2 separate regions of the Homo sapiens genome follow, and region 1 is linked to region 2. Evidence: promoter capture Hi-C in human tissues and cell types (Jung and others, 2019). All regions are on one chromosome and are shown on one strand. Each heading gives the region's core, a stretch centred on a gene start or on the middle of the fragment in contact. The rest is flanking DNA. Distances are from core to core; before and after follow the strand shown. Region 1 overlaps LOC101928264 (a long non-coding RNA gene). Region 2 holds the start of SLAMF8 (SLAM family member 8).

Region 1 (2,700 bases), core at 91-2,590, 51 kb before region 2:
CAAGTCTTACACCAGGGCTTCTTAGTCATAGGTGTGCTTATGAGCCACCTGAGGATCTCACAGGTCGGGGGGCCTGAGATTCCGCATCTATCACAGGCTCCCATGTGACATCAACTGTGGATCACACCTTGAGAAGCACTGGTCTAAAGGTGGTGGAGGGAGCAGCCAGGAGTTTAGAAGGTGCCAAAACGAAACCAGATGCTGACAGTTTGTGAGTTCCATTGGTTCATCATATTTGTTGCATCTACACTGGAAAATGAACCTATGCGGCCTATAGTTTTAGAGACCGAAAAACTTAAAACAAAGGGGAAAGAAAAAAAGCAATACACCAGTTTAGAAACTCCAAAGGTTTAGTGCTGTGATGAGCATATTAAAGATAAGAAAATAAAGTAAATAAAGGCAACTATATTGGTTTTCTATTGCTGCATAACAAATTGCCACAAACATAATGGCTAAAGAAACACCATTTATGATGTCAGTTCTGTAGGTCAGAAGTTGGCCACAGGTTAGCTGAACCTAAGCTCAGGGTCTCCTCAGGCTGATATCAAAGTGCCAGCCAGGCTATGGCTCAGCTGAGGCTCGAGGCAGCGTAAACAGAAGAAGTGAGAGAGTCCACCAACATGGTTTTGATCACAGAAGTGCCTCTTCCCTAACTGAATGCTCCCTCTTGATTCCACTCTCACCTGCCTTTGTTGAATGGCTTTTCAAAAACCAAAGCCTAGTCCCCACCTCCCTCCCCATCTCCAGCTCCCATGATGATAGCATCTGATGTGAGGCAGCATTCCCAACACCCCAACTTAAACTTTTAATGTGCTCCTGGGATGATCTAAAAAAAAAGAAAAAAACACCATAATTTTAAATGCCATAAAGGCAATTGACTTGTCAAAAGTACAAGAAATCAACTAGTAAATTGGGAGATTTCAGTTATGGTATGTTCTGCAACAGTATACGAATCACAAATTTTTCAACAAGACAAAAAAAAGAGAAACAAGGAAAAGCTATCAGTGCCATCTTGTGGAAAGACCTATATTAAAATGTCCAAGGTAATCTGACCACACCCCAGACCATTTCAGCGCCTCTACACCCAAAGCTGACACACATCCAACTGACACCAGGGTAGCTTCACTGTTTGTTTGCAGGTAATGGTTCTGGTAGAGGTTCCATTTTAATTGCTTGTTTCTTGTGCCATGACCAATCATTAAATAATTTGTATATCATCTCTAACCATACAAATACCACAGCAACCTATACCTCCAACACCACACACACACAAAACTCATGCCCAGACTACTCTGGTTGGTTCCCCCACAGACAGCATGGTTCTCCAAATATGGAAAATTTGCATTGATCTATCACAACATTCCTGCATACACACACTTAGACCACAACTGCTTACAGTATAATTCTTTCTTTTTGAATTAACCTTTGTTTTAATTTTATTTTATTTCTTGAGTTTATTGTAAGTTATTTTTCTTCTTTCCTTCAAACTGAATATTTTTATCTATATTAGTTACATATTACTGCATAATAAATTACCCAAAATTTGATGGCTTAAAAGAATAAATATTTATTATCTCACAGTTTCTGTAGGTAAGGAATTCAGGAGAGGCTTAGCTGGGTTGTTCTGGCTCAGGGAATCCATGAGGCTATAATCAAGATGTTGGGTAAATCATCTAAAGTCTTCATGGGCTGGAGAATTCACTGCAACAGTAGTGAGCCACTGACTTGATGGTGGGTAGGAGGCTTCAGTTCCTCACCACATGGATCTCTCCACACAGCTGCTTGAGAGTTCTCACAACATGGCAGCTGGCTTCTTCCCAAAGCTTCCCATGGCAGGCCTTCTTTCCAAGACAGAACAAGGCAAAAATTAAGTATTTCATGATGCAGCCTAGGAAGTCACACACCACCAGTTACACAATATCTTACTGGTTGCAAAAATCAGCCCTATCAATGTGGAAAAGCACTACACAGGCATGAAATGGCTCATTGGGTACCATCTTGGAAGCTAGCTGCCATACCATTTCTTCTTAGGTTCAGTTTCCAGATTATCAGATCTTAGGTGTGAAGTGTGTTTAGACATTAAAAAATCAGAACACTGAGGACACTGAGAATTCTGACTGTAGTCCAAGGGCCACAGGAACCTGAACCCAAGCAATCCTTTGCATTGGTGGAACACAGGGACCTACCTGGAGGAAGAAATTCTCTGACTCCAATTGCACCCCTAATTGCCACTAGCATCAAGCCAAACAGGGGACTGGGGCCTCAATATGAACAAGAACTAAGTCAAAACATTCTTATCAGCTGGAAAAAGGGAAGCTGAGATGCCCTAAAAAATGTTCTGTTAAGCCTTATTTTTTACTTTTAAGTTCAGGGGTACATGTGAAGAATGTGCAGGTTTGTTACATACGTAAAAGTGTGCCATGGTGGTTTGCTGCACAGATCATCCCATCACCTAGGTTTTAAGCCCAGCATCCATTAGCTATTCTTCCTGATGTTCTCCCTCCCCAAGTCCCCACCCCAGACAGGCCCCAGCATTTGTTGTTCCCCATCCCCATGTGTCCATGTGTTCTCATCATTCAGCTCCCACTTGTAAGTAAGAATATGCAGTGTTTGGTTTTCTGTTCCTGTGTTAGTTTGCTGAGAATAATGGCTTCCAGTTCCATCCATGTCCCTGCAAGGGAATGATCTCATTGCTTTTTA
Region 2 (2,700 bases), core at 150-2,649:
TCCCCTGCCCAGATCCGCGAAGCCCTCTTTCCCACCCACTTCTGAGGACTGACTACCTGTTTGCACAAAGTGGTGTCTGTCTGCAGATAACCCTTCACTTTCCTTGGTGTACCTATCTCTACATTTTGGTTGTGAGTACCTGGAGGGCAAAAACCTTATCCCAAAATCCTCCTGCTCACCACCCACCCCCACCCCATCCTATATGCCTAGTTCCTGGCTGAGTCCAAAGCTCAGTGTCCAGTTTGATTGACAGGCGAGAGGCTGTGCAGGACCAGATACGATGAGCCACACTCCAGACTAGCAGGAATTTTCCTCAGGGGCAACACGTCCTCTAAAAACCTTCACTGGCAAGAAACCAAGAAACTTGAAGTGAGAAGAGAAACAGGATGAGGAGGGGATAACTGTGGCAAAATAGACCACACTTCAAAGGCTGAGGTTCAAGTTCCAGCTCTGCCTCTCTGTGAGCTCTGCAAGGGGCCTAACCTCACTCTGGTTTTCACATTTTCCCATTTCTAACCAGGTAACAAGATGATCCTCTCAGAGGAGAGTTGCAAGGCTTACATAAAGCCAGATGTGTAGCCATGTCTAGAATGTACTCACTCACTTAACAAATACTCATGAAACATCTGTAATGTGCCAAGCACTGAGGGCAACACAGAAGGGAACAAAAGACTGGCTAAACAGTCTGTGAAAACCAGAAAACTGTCATCAACAACACAGCAAGAGTAAAGAGGGAGGTGTGGGCATGCACAGGACACAAGGAGAGGGCCTCTCACCTGCCTGTGGTCAGGAAGCCTGGAAGGATGTCCTCGCCGACTGCACAGCCATGTTCTGTTTGCAAGGATAGAGGGAGCAGCATGCCTAGTCGGGGTGGTGGGGAAAGTACAACACAGGGAAGTGTGAAATCAGTAGTTCTGAGAAGGAGGCCTTCTGGCTTGGGATGGCTGGAGGGCAGAATGACTGTGGGCGACCAGCCTGGAGAAGAAGGCCTGACTCAGGAGGGCCTGCATGCAGAGCAGAGTTAGTCCTCATCCTCAGGTCCACGGGAGGCCACAGAAGCATTTTAAGCTAGAATGAGGATGACAGATAGTAGTGAGGCAGGCTGAGATGCAGGAAGGCCAGCGAGATCCAGCAAGGAGGATGTGGCTTGTGTGGGGGCTGTTGTCGCCACGTGTTAGCCAACCATGTGCATGTGAAAGAGGCTGACTTACAAGAATCTGCTCCTGTAAGCCCAGAGAGGCCCAGGGACAACTTCCACTTTATTCTGGATGTTTTCACTTTTGGGACATCCTGTTCTGAGTCAAGATTCCTCCTTCTGAACATGGGACTTTCCAGAAGGACCACAGCTCCTCCCGTGCATCCACTCGGCCTGGGAGGTTCTGGATTTTGGCTGTCGAGGGAGTTTGCCTGCCTCTCCAGAGAAAGATGGTCATGAGGCCCCTGTGGAGTCTGCTTCTCTGGGAAGGTAAGTGGGGCAGGCAGATAGCCTGTCCTCGGAGAGCTGAAGGCCCCTCCCCAGCTGCCTATGCCAGACGTCTGGGCAGGGATCCCTCGACCTGGGTGAGAACCCAGAAGCTGAGGGTGGGTAGGAAAGACTAGAACAAGCTCTTGGGCAACATTTTAAGCTAGGCAGATACAAAGAGATGCAGGGTCCTGGGAGGGAGGAGGTGGCAGCTTGAGGGGTATTCTTATCTGTGAGACATGAGCTGTTTTGTGGCCCAGAGCAGTAAAAACGGAGCCAGTGGGTGATACTGCTGGTTTGGAGAGAAAGTCGGCTGTGAGAATGGTGAGGACCCGGCAGTGTTAGCATGCAGAAACTCTGCAGAGTTTGAGGAGAGTAGCAGAGGGCAGGGCAGAGCAGGGTTCCCCACAATCAGCAGAGTGTGTTTTCAACAGCCTGTGGGGGAGCTGAGGTCCCTCCCTACAGGCCTTTATAAGGGGAGGCAAGTACTAAGTAGGGATGAGAGAGGCTAAATGTGGCCCACGTGGACTTAGGGGTGGCCGACGGTGGTGTGATGTTGGGATGGCTGATACACGGGGTCTCCTCCACACCGGGCGATCCCTCTATCCATCTGATGCCTGAGTTCCCTTCCTTGGTCAACAAGCAGCCAACATGACATGGGTCAACACTGCCGGGCCATGGATGAGGGTTTATGGGGTGCAGCAAAGATTAAGATGATATTGTTTACATCAGAGGCTCATAGGGACTTTGGGTTGCTTTGTTTCATCTCCTTGCCTGAGTTCCTGGCCCTGAGAGCTCCAAAGCCTGCAGATTTCTTCAATATTTCTAAACATGTGCAGGAAATCACACCTTAACCTCAAAAAAGGCCTTGGTCTGTTTGGTGAGACAAAAATAATTTGCCTTTTTTTTTTTTCTTTGAGACGGAGTCTTGCTCTGTCACCCAGGCTGGAATGCAATGGTGCATCTCAGCTCACTGTAACCTCTGCCTCCTGGGTTCAAGCGATTCTCCTGTCTCAGCCTCCTGAGTAGCTGGGATTACAGGTCACTGCCACTAAACCCGGCTAATGTTTGTATTTTTAGTAGAGACAGGGTTTCATCATGTTGACCAGGCTGGTCTCAAACTCCTGACCTCAAGTGATCCGCCCTCCTCAGCCTCCCAAAGTGCTGGAATTACAGGCATGAGCCACCACACCCAGCCCAAAAATAATTTTTCAAATGGCCCTTAATGATCAAAGATC

What was found. Contacts are between HindIII fragments. The study calls those that stand out against the background at their distance.
Region 1: a contact is called between a fragment that was not itself captured here and the fragment with the promoter of SLAMF8 in region 2, in 16 of the 25 tissues and cell types used here (IMR-90 fibroblasts, adrenal gland, aorta and 13 more).

Annotation. Positions count from the first base shown.
Region 1 is chr1:159,774,915-159,777,614 of GRCh38, forward strand. LOC101928264 (a long non-coding RNA gene) reads right to left here. Exons shown (of 3, transcript XR_922193.3): 3 at 1,543-1,841. Among named protein-coding and RNA genes, the nearest start is that of DUSP23, 4.7 kb to the right of the region's middle. The HindIII fragment of the contact is 6,090 bases long and covers 1-2,700 here.
Region 2 is chr1:159,825,474-159,828,173 of GRCh38, forward strand. It overlaps SLAMF8 (SLAM family member 8), which reads left to right and starts at 1,400. Exons shown (of 5, transcript NM_020125.3): 1 at 1,400-1,465. The coding sequence starts at 1,426. The HindIII fragment of the contact is 29,109 bases long and covers 1-2,700 here.